Regions from separate parts of the Homo sapiens genome. Here regions 2 and 3 are each linked to region 1. Evidence: promoter capture Hi-C in 16 types of primary human blood cells and fetal thymus (Javierre and others, 2016). All regions are on one chromosome and are shown on one strand. The core of a region is centred on a gene start or on the middle of the fragment in contact, and the rest is flanking DNA. Distances in the headings are between cores, read along the strand shown. Region 1 holds the start of NARS2 (asparaginyl-tRNA synthetase 2, mitochondrial). Region 2 holds the start of RSF1 (remodeling and spacing factor 1). Region 3 overlaps INTS4 (integrator complex subunit 4).

Evidence for each region. The method cuts DNA at HindIII sites, captures the fragments that hold promoters and counts their contacts. A CHiCAGO score of 5 or more calls a contact.
Region 2: a contact is called between the fragment with the promoter of RSF1 here and the fragment with the promoter of NARS2 in region 1, in 5 of 17 cell types (non-activated CD4 T cells, fetal thymus, total CD8 T cells and 2 more). The highest score is 7.3, in non-activated CD4 T cells.
Region 3: a fragment that was not itself captured here is called in contact with the fragment with the promoter of NARS2 in region 1 in 2 of 17 cell types (fetal thymus and neutrophils); the score reaches 6.0 in fetal thymus.

What each region holds. Positions count from the first base shown.
Region 1 is chr11:78,572,872-78,576,419 of GRCh38, forward strand. NARS2 (asparaginyl-tRNA synthetase 2, mitochondrial) reads right to left here and starts at 1,993. Exons shown (of 14, transcript NM_024678.6): 1 at 1,477-1,993. The coding sequence starts at 1,617. RefSeq lists enhancers at 1,379-1,488, 2,149-2,288. The HindIII fragment of the contact is 10,208 bases long and covers 1-3,548 here.
Region 2 is chr11:77,818,799-77,822,346 of GRCh38, forward strand. RSF1 (remodeling and spacing factor 1) reads right to left here and starts at 1,924. Exons shown (of 16, transcript NM_016578.4): 1 at 1,730-1,924. The coding sequence starts at 1,916. AAMDC (adipogenesis associated Mth938 domain containing) reads left to right here and starts at 2,346. Exons shown (of 4, transcript NM_024684.4): 1 at 2,346-2,443. RefSeq lists enhancers at 305-1,278, 574-683, 1,279-2,251, 1,804-1,973, 1,984-2,123 and silencers at 1,314-1,403, 1,544-1,633, 2,224-2,383. The HindIII fragment of the contact is 10,465 bases long and covers 1-3,548 here.
Region 3 is chr11:77,884,218-77,887,765 of GRCh38, forward strand. All of the region lies in intron 21 of INTS4 (integrator complex subunit 4), which reads right to left. It also overlaps a transcript of AAMDC not described here. Among named protein-coding and RNA genes, the nearest start is that of AAMDC, 65 kb to the left of the region's middle. The HindIII fragment of the contact is 2,648 bases long and covers 347-2,994 here.

The DNA of each region.
Region 1 (3,548 bases), core at 743-3,242:
TTGGTATGTATTTTACACTTATAGCACATCTCAATTTGGACCAGACAAAGTTCAAGTGCTCAGAGCCAAAAGTGGCTGGTAGCTACCATATCAGACCTCACAGGACTAAACTGAAATCCTCTAACCTGGGCAGCAGGTTCTCTTTTCATCTTTGAATTTTCTCTTGACTAGCACACAAAGTATCATTAATGTATACCCAATCAATAGACCAACAGACCTATGGAAAGAATATGGAACTCAAAGAGGAGCAGATTGGTCATACCGCTAAAAAGTAAAGGATATGTGAGGACAACAGAAATCACTGCAACGGCAAGCCATGACTGTGTCAGTACAATCATGGGTGACAAAGCAAGAACCTACTCAAAAAATAAGTATTTATTATAACAACATCTACCAGGCTTATGCCTGTAATCCCAGCATTTTGGGATGCCGAAGGAGGAGGACTGCTTGAGTCCAGGAGTTTGAGACCAGCCTGGGCAATACAGTGAGACTCATCTTCACAAAAAACTTAAAAAATTATAGAGTGTGGTGGTGCATGCCTATAGTTTCAGCTACTCTGGAGGCCGAGGCAGGAGGATTGCTTGAGCCTGGGAGATGGAGGTTGTAGTCATCTGAGATCACATCACTGCGCTCCAGTCTGGGTGACAGAGCTAGACCCTGTCTCAAAAAATAAATAACCACATCAGTGTACTTCAGCAACCTAATAAGAAACAGTCAAACACCTTGTTTATTCTGCACCTCTTCTATGTGGAGCTGCTGCAAATAATATAATCAGCAAGAGAAACAATAGCAGCTAACATTTGTAGACTATGAGCCACTGTTCTAAATATCTTACTTCCATTACCTCATTTAATTTTCAGGACTCAGGGACAATTATTATCTCTTTCCATAAGAGGAAAATAAGGTGTAGAACGCATAAACGCTATGCAGAGATTTAAACCTAAGCAGCTTAACTCCAGAGCTCTTTCAAACTGCTACATTCCAGTCTTTCTCCGAATTCATTAAAAATAAATTACATGCAGACCCCCACAATAGGCACTGAGGTCGCTAAAAGTTTAAAAGGCATGGTTTGAACAAGTATTTGCTGTCAGCCATGTGTGAATACAAAGGCAGGTAAGACACGGTTTCTGCTCTCAAGGAGGGAGGTCAAGACAACCACTTTATAAACCTGGATATTCATTATAAGGGATAAAGATAGAGAAAGGGGGCTTGTTCATTTACACTTTTGGTATGATTAACAAGTTTACAGGTAATACCCTGGAATCATGAAAGCAAAGTTCCAGCGCTTTACAGTTATCGGAACAGTTTTGTGAAAAGTAATGGAAATCAGAAAAGTGCAAACCCGCGACGCCTACACTTTCTAACTTTTCCCTGCTGGCGGTTGTGTCTGACCCGACTGTAAAAGAAAAGCTAGATGTGGATGTGCCATATAAAAGTCCCTACAAGAAAAAACCCACTCCCTTCCCATTCACCAACCTGGATCTTAATGCGCTCCCCACTCGCGTTCTGAGCCCCGAGAGCGTCCCGCACGCTCAGTTTGGCTGAAGGTTTGTGCTTGGGGAAGGGGGCGGAGGAACAGAAGCGCACGGACCGCAGCAGGCAGCGGACCCCCAGCATCCCGCGTCCGCCCAGGCCCTCCGCGGGAGCAGCCCAGACCCCACGGTTCGAACCCCGCCTGCAGCGGCCCTCCTTTCTCAGCTGCTCCCCTTCCGCGGCCGCAGCTCTGCTCTAAGGCACTCCAGAGCCCCTCGGCTGCGCGCTTTCTCCTTCAGGACTCCCAGCTCTGTCCCCACAGAACCTCTCCGCTTCCCACTTCCCAACGGGGCGGAATGGACAGGACACTAGGCAAACGCCAGAAAGAAACCACGTGCAGTTGGCAGCTGGGGCGCCCCACTACCCGCGACAATTGTAAACCTACGAACAGAACCCGGGCCGCAACACGCGCAACCACTCCTACCACACCACGCCAACGCCGCTTACGTCATCACGCTACGGGGAAGAAGGGAGAGCATGCGTACTTGTGACCCAGGCTTAGGGAGGCGTGCGGGAGGGGGCGGGGTCAGGAGCCGAGACGGGGCGGAGCTAATGCCCTAAGGTTGTAGAGATTATCGCTGAAAGAACGTGGGAGCACATCTGAGGGTCTTCATTTCTAAAGTTTCCAGGTGAGGCTGAGAAACTGAGAGGCAAGGAGTGACTGATGGAGAGGGAAACCGTCTCCATCAGTCAACAATAGGGATCCAAGTAAGAGGAGGCTCTTAGCTGTTAACAGGATTCGCTTGAAGAGATCAGTCGTTCCTTTCCTGAGTACTCCGCAGAGAAAAATCAGACATAGCCCCAATGCGCAAGTCACAGTTGTGTGGTATCAGACAGCTAAACAGACAGTTGCATAAAAGGGCGATCAGTTTGCCTGACAGAGCCTAAGCGTGGGACGCCAGAGATGGCTTCCTGGAGAAAGTAGTCCTCTGACAGGTAAATAAAAGGAACTGGAGGGACCTTGCATATGGCAGGCAAGACGGTGGGAAGATGTTGCAGAGACTGGAGGAAACTCGAGTGTTTCCTGCCAGAATCCTCCAAGTCTCCCTCTTCCCTCTGCCCTCCAACACAGCTATCTGCATTTGTTTGACCTGGAAACAATGACCCTTTTATATATTAGGCTACGTTTTATTAAAAAAAAAATTCTGTAACTCAATGACGGTCATTAAAAGGTTTTTAATCTAATTTAAAAAGTAAAACGTTTGGCCAAGTGCGGTGGCTCACGCCTGTAATCCCAACTCTTAGGGAGGCAGAAGCAGGAGGATTGCTTCAGCCCAGGAGTTCAAGACCAGCGCTCGCCCTCGCTGTCTCTCTCCCGCTCCCTCTCACTCTCACTCTCTCTCTCTCACTTTTACCTTACTTAAAGTTGCTACTATTATTATACCCATTTTACAAATGAGAGAACTTACGCACAGAAAGGCTAGATGACCTACTTAAGGATACACATTCCCTAAGTGTGAGATTTAAACCCAGAAGTGCTGGCTCTATGCACTTAAGCAGTATGCTGTATTACATAGTGTCCCAAGGTGATCTGTTCCATCAAGGAGCTCATGCTTTAGAGATGGAGACAAGCAAGAAAAGAGACTACTGAAATATAAACCAGTAAGTGCACACATAGATGTATGAGTTGTCTGCATTTGTTTGGACTGAAAAGTCACCCTTATATATTAGGCTACCTCTTAAATTTATCCAAAAAATTATTTTTGATATTTTATCCAAATATTATATTGGATAAAATATAATACAATTATAATATATACATGTATCACAATTTTATATTTTATATAATATAAATGTGTTCCCTGGTTCTTTTAATAAATTAAAATTATAAATATAATAAAATTATAATTATAAATTATAATATATAATTAAATTATATTGGATATATTATATATTATATACTTATAATATAAAATATGTTGGATAAAATATAATATAGTCTAGAGAAGGAGAAAATTAAGCTGAATTTTTGAAGTGGATCAATATTTTGCCAGGTAGGCATGTAAGAAAATTTC
Region 2 (3,548 bases), core at 674-3,173, 750 kb before region 1:
AAATATAAAAAAGAATGTAAATACAATTTGATAATGAAATTACTACAATGGGAGCTTAATTTTTAAACAAATTCTGTGAGAAGCCTTTATATAATGTAATTAGTCACCCTCCTATTTTGTACTATTTTTTAAATTAGCCTTTTGTAAGCCAGTTTGTTACAGGTAGAGGGAATGTGGACAGGTAAGAACAGATTACTAGGCTTATATTATAACTGCTGTATTAATTTGAGTCTTCGGTAGCCATAACATCATACAGATTCTTTATAGGTAATATTCTGAAGAACTTCATACTTGGCGCTTCCTAGCAATGCAAATAAATTCAGTTAACAGAAACTTCTTCATTTACATAGAGAATAGAAGAGCGACCCTGCTTTCTTGGAAAGGAAACAGCTATCTGTCTTGTACAATAACCAATCCACTTTGGCCAGCTAATATGGACAAAAAAAGAGACCTATTTGGAAAACGTTTCTTCTCCAGCCAAGGGCTGTTTCCAGATAAAGGCAATGCTCAGAGTATAACAAAAAAGCCTTCTCTGAGGAAAGAAAAGTGCCAGAAAAGGAGAGGCAGGGATCGGGAATAAATGGGGGTGAGTATAAGCACTCAGTGTGAAGGCTGGAGGCAGCAGGCGCAGCGCTGAGATGCTCCAGCAAAAGAACCAGCAGCAGCAGCAGGAAGTTTCAATGGGGCCGGGCAGAGCATGCGCCCTGCACCCGCGCGGTGGCCTTATGTGGAAGGAGCACCACTTGCGAACACCAATAATAGACCAGCGGCACCAGAGAGAGAAACATGAGCAACAAGCACCTTCTTCAACTGTTTCCCCCTCCGTCAGAGCCCCTCCTCCAGCTTACATACTAACCACCCCACCCTACCGTGCAAATGGGAGGGAGACGACTTCTTCGCCTAAGCCCGGCTGCCAAGATGAAGGGGGAAGGGATTGGAAAAGTGGGGAGATGCTCGCCTATTATTTTGGGGGAGGTGGGGAGAGGAAGGAGAACTATGGAGGAGGAATTAACCCTCTCCTCTCCACAGTGGAGCTGAACCGACTTCGCCCCCCTACCGAGAATGGAGAAGAACCCCCTCCCGTGGGGGAGGAGCAGACCTCCCCACTTCAAGGAAGGAGTTTTAGGGGTTAAAGCAGCCCTCGAGGGGAAGGGAAAAGGGACAAATCTCTCAGGGGAGTTCCCAACAGAGGGAGGGAGAGTTGAGTGTCCGCTGGCCCCCGCCCACCCAGGTGAAGGGAGATAAGGAGGTGTCCGGAGCAGCCGAGCCCAGCCTTCCCCGAGATGGTCGGGAAGACTGGTGGGAGGAGGGGAGGGAGTAAGGGTGGGGAGGAGGAGAAAAGCGCAAAGCTGGCCGGAACCTGCGCTCCCCTTCCCCCGCCGCCAAGGGGGAGACGGGGTGGGGGGCCGCCCTCCGCCGCGGAGAAGCAGTCCCCGGGGCTGCCGACCGGCACAATGACCCCTCCCCGCCTCCAGCCCACACCTAGCCCGCAACGCCTCCACCTCAGCTCCCCGCCCGGCCGAGTGGCCCTAGGGGGCCTCCGCCCCGCCTCCCCACTGCCCAAGACCCCGGGGGCTGGGCGGAGAAGACCAGCCCGGCGGAGTTGCGTCCCAGGGGGAAGACAGAGCCGCGGAGGCCCGAGCCGCGAAGAACCGGGGCGCCTGTGAAGAGCGGAGAGTAGCAGAGCGCCAGGGCCGCTTCCCGCCGGGCGTTCGGGCCCCTCGCTTACCTTCTCCGTTGCCGACGTCCGGCGGCGGCGCCTGCAGCACCCGCTCCAGCTCAGGGAACGGCAACTCAGGCAGGTCTAGCAGCGGCCCGTAGCGCTCCAAGAAGGAGCAGACTACGGCGAAGTTGGGGCACGAACCCGGGCAGCCCGGAGGAGCCATCACCGCCGCCGCTGCCGCCGCCGTCGCCATTTTGAACTGGAGGATGGAGGAGGAGGCGATGGGGGGGCGGGGGAAGTTGTGGTGCCGAGGGATGGCAAGGCAACCTTACAGACGACAGGAGGCGCTCTCAAGTGGGCTCCTCTGCGGATCCCAGCGTCTCAGGGACGGCTCCGCGATCCCACAATACATCGGCGGCCCGGAGCAGTCGAGAACCGAGTCAGACGGGAGACAGAGCGGCCCTCGGCGCCTTTCACTTTCCGCCCTCTTTCCGCCCCCTTCTCTCCTCCCCTTCGGGCTTGCCACTGCCTCGTGTGACAGGGGGAATGAAAACAAGGGAAGCGGGGCGGGGAGGCGGGCTGGAAGCGGGAGGGGCGGGACTTCTCGAGAACAATGGCCAATGGACGCAGAGGGGGCGGGGCCTCGGGCGCTGTTCAACTGCAGGGCGTATTCCCGGAGGGCAGTTGGGGAGCGCAGATCCCGAAGCAGCGCTGGGAGCGTAAGTGCGGGCAGAGCACTGCGCCGTTTGGGAACGCAACTTTGAGGAGACAGTGCGGTGGGTGAGTTTGCGGGGGAATCCTGAAACTGGGCCACGAGATGGTGGAGAGGTTGAGGAGAATTAATAAACAGAAAAAGGGAATAGGGCGGGGGAAAGCACAGTTGTGGGAGAAGGTTGGGAAGGGGAAAGGTAGAGGTGTGCCCTTAATTAGGGGCTGGGCTGGGACCTCGGTAAGATGTCTCTGTGGAAGTTTGCCGACGGGGTATTGCTCTCTGCTGGGGTACAGGAATCGCAGCTTTGCTGGAAAAGCAGGATCTGAGGGAACGGAACTCTGGGGGAATCGTCGGAGTGAGGAGTTGGGGCCCTGCTGGGAGAAGAGGATCTGAGGAGACCAGGCTCTGCTAGGGGGCCATGGTGTGAGGGGAAGGGGCTCTGTTCAGGGACCAGAATCGGAGTGTGGGCTGGGACTCCATTGAGAGGCGGAACATGACAGGAGACGGTGGAGCAGCGAAAAGTTTGTTAGAAGACAGGGTTCCACTTCGGGGCGGGGCGGGGGCAGTGAACATTCCCACAAAGAACGCCAGAGAGAAACTACCAATAATGTAAAATAGAATGTGCAGCCTGAGAAGCAGCAGTACACGTTATGCTTAGAAGCCTGAGCTTTGGATTCAGCCAGGCCTGAGTCCTAGCGGGGCTACTTCATGACACTGTGGAGGTTTCTTTATTTCTTTGAACTCCTTAGAGTGGGGTGATAATAGTACCTACATCATACGGTATTACTAGATAAATCACAGTAAAGTGATTAGCACAGTGCCGTAGCACATAGTGAGTACTTTAAAAATATTAGTTATCAAAAAAGGAGTTCCTATAATTTAGACTGAATTCCGCTATATTTATTTAGTCTATAATTTATTACTTTGAGAATTTTCTGAGTGCATTTAAAACTCAATGTAGTACCTAATTCCTAAAAAGAATTTGGCCGGGCGCGGTGGCTCATGCCTGTAATCCCAACACTTTGGGAAACCGAGGTGGGTGCATCACCTGAGCTCTGCAGTTCCAGACCAGCCTGGGCAACATGGTGAAACCCCGTCTCTAGTAAAAATAACGAAAATTAGCCGGGAATCCTTGGGAGGCTGATGCAGGAGAACCCCTTGAACCGGGGAGGC
Region 3 (3,548 bases), core at 421-2,920, 690 kb before region 1:
TATTAATTCTTATTATGAAAAGTGTTCTCAGGCACCTTCACCAGAAGAGCACTCCCTCCCTGGCTCTGAATCATACCATGGCCCAGCATCCATCACCAACCACCAGTATTTGGAGTTATTTTGTAATTGCATTCTTTCCACTACATTGCAAGCAGCTAGGAAGTCATTTATCTCTCTCTCTACGGAGAGACGGCTCAATGAAGAGTCCACTCAAATCACTGGCCAGTTCTTTAAGGCTCATAAACTGCAACAGAGTTCTTTCCTCAGCATCCTGGGGGACCTCCCAGCTCCCTGTGTAGACAGCCTACTATACTGCAGCGCACAAAGGAACTAGAGGAACAAATGAAGCTTATCCTAGGACTAGGACCTGCTCTATGTAAATATACTTATGAAGGCAGAGTAGGGAACCACACAGGTCTTCCAATGTTGAAACTGTGGTCAATGTTGAAACTGCGGAAGGCATGTCTCACCCACTTGCCCTATAATCCTTCATCTCTCCTCAGGTCATGGGGCCTCCCCCTGATTCTACACTTCTTTCTTTCTTTTTTTTTCTTTAAAACAGGGTCTTACTCTGCCACCCAGGCTGGAGTGCAGTGGCACGATCATAACTCACTGAAGCCTCAAACTCCTGGGCGCAAGTGATCTTCCTGCCTCAGCCTCCTGAGGAGTGGGGATTACAGGCACGTGCCACCACGCCAGGTAATTTTCTTTTTAAATTTTTTTGTAGAGACAAGATCTTGCTATGTTGCCCAGGCTAGTCTCCAACTCTTGACCTCAAGTGATCCTCCTGCCTCAGACTCCCATAGTGTTGGAATTACTGGCATGAGCAATTGTGCCCAGCCTACCCTTATTTCTTTTTCTTTTTCTTTTTTCTTTTCTTGAGATAGTCTCACTCTGTCACACAAGCTGAACTGCAGTGGCATGATCTCGGCTCACTGCAACCTCCGCCTCCCGGGTTAAAGTGATTCTCCTGCCTCAGCCTCCCAAGTAGCTGGGATTACAGGCGCCCACCGTCATGCCCGGCTAATTTTGTATCTTTAGTAGAGATGGGGTTTCACCATGTTGGCCAGGTTGGTCTCGAACTCCTGACCTCAGGTGATCTTCCTACTTCAGCCTCCCAAAGTGTTGGGATTACAGGCGTGAGCCACCACACCTGGCCTACCCTTATTTCTTAAAGCTGCTACTCCCCACTCTAGTTCTAGGCTCCAAGCTCCCAAACCTACTATAGGAAAAAAATGCAGGTGTCTCAGTTTCCTGATCCTTATTATCTTTAAAGACAAGTGCTTGGGCTTCATTTTTTTTTAGAAAATGAAGGGGAGGGCCGGGCACAGTGGCTCACACCTGTAATCCCAGCACTTTGGGAGGCTGAGCCAGGTGGATTACTTGAGGTCAGGAGTTCAAGACCAGTCTGGTCAACATGATGAAACCCCTTCTCTACTAAAAATACAAAAATTAGCTGGGTATGGTGGCGTGTGCCTGTAGTCCCAGCTACTTGGGAGGCTGAAGCAGGAGAATCACTTGAACCTGGGAGGCAGAGGTTGCAGTGAGCTGAGATCGCTGCCACTGCACTCCAGCCTGGGTGACAGAGTGAGATTCTGTCTCAAAAAAAAGAAAGAAAGAAAGAAAAAGAAGGGCAGAGGGGGGCTGAAACAGCAATGATCATGGGAAAAACAAATGAACAGGGGCCATAATTTCTGTGTTCAGCAGGTGCAGTGGCTCATGCCTATAATCCCAGCATTTTGCGGGGCTGAGGCGGGAGGATTGCTTGAAGACAGGAGTTTAAGACGAGACTGGGCAAAAAAGTAAGACCCCCCAATCTCCACACAAAAAAAATTAAAATTAGCCAGGTGTAGTGGTGTGTATCTCTAGTTCCAGCTACTCAGGAGGCTGAGGCAGGAGGATCCCTTGGACACAGAAGTTTGAGGTCACAGTGAGCTGACCATGCCACTGCACTCCAGCCCAGGCAACAGACAGAGACCTTGTCTCAAAAAAAAGAAAAAAAAAATTCCCAGCATTCTCAGCAAAACTGTCCTTGGTGAAAGGCCTTCACTCCTCTGTGAAATGGTTGCTGGAAGCCTTCTTTCATTTGTCTACTCCAAAAGTGGAGCTTAGAAACCTGTGGCCCAAGTAGGTCAGAGGAAGGAAATGGCCAGTATGAATGATCATCAGGTAGAATACAGTAACCTAGATTAGGCTTACAAGAGTTAATAATCGCGAAGGCCCGCGGCGGGTGTTGATGCCATGTGATTTCTGCCCAGTGCTCTGAATGTCAAAGTGAAGAAATTCAATGAAGCACGGGTAAACGGCGGGAGTAACTATGACTCTCTTAAGGTAGCCAAATGCCTTGTCATCTAATTAGTGACGCACATGAATGGATGAACGAGATTCCCACTGTCCCTACCTACTATCCAGCGAAACCACAGCCAAGGGAATGGGCTTGGCGGAATCAGCAGGGAAAGAAGACCCTGTTGAGCTTGACTCTAGTCTGGCAGGGTGAAGAGACACGAGAGGTGTAGAATAGGTGGGAGGCGCCCGGCGAGGGGGCGGGGCAGGGTCCGCAGGCCTTGCTAAGAAACTCACTCAAAACCGCTCAACTACATGGAAACTGAACAACCTGCTCCTGAATGACTACTGGGTACATAACGAAATGAAGGCAGACATAAAGATATTCTTTGAAACCAACGAGAACAAAGACACAACATACCAGAATCTCTGGGACACATTCAAAGCAGTGTGTAGAGGGAAATTTATAGCACTAAATGCCCACAAGAGAAAGCAGGAAAGATCCAAAATTGACACCCTAACATCACAATTAAAAGAACTAGAAAAGCAAGAGCAAACACATTCAAAAGCTAGCAGAAGGCAAGAAATAACTAAAATCAGAGCAGAACTGAAGGAAATAGAGACACAAAAAACCCTTCAAAAAATTAATGAATCCACCACCAAAAATCCTCAATAAAATACTGGCAAACCAAATCCAGCAGCACATCAGAAAGCTTATCCACCATGATCAAGTGGGCTTCATCCCTGGGATGCAAGGCTGGTTCAACATACGAAAATCAATAAATGTAATCCATCATATAAACAGAACCAAAGACAAAAACCACATGATTATCTCAATAGAGGCAGAAAAGGCCTTTGACAAAATTCAACAACCTTCATGCTAAAAACTCTCAATAAATTAGGTATTGATGAGACGTATCTCAAAATAATAAGAGCTATCTATGACAAACCCACAGCCAATATCATACTGAATGGGCAAAAACTGGAAGCATTCCCTTTGAAAACTGGCACAAGACAGGGATGCCCTCTCTCAGCACTCCTATTCAACATAGTGTTGGAAGTGCTGGCCAGGGCAATTAGGTAGGAGAAGGAAATAAAGGGTATTCAATTAGGAAAAGAGGAAGTCAAATTGTCCCTGTTTGCAGATGACATGATTGTATATCTAGAAAACCCCATCGTCTCAGCCCAAAATCTCCTTAAGCTGATAAGCAACTTCAGCAAAGTCTCAGGATACAAAATCAATGTGCAAAAATCACAAGCATTCT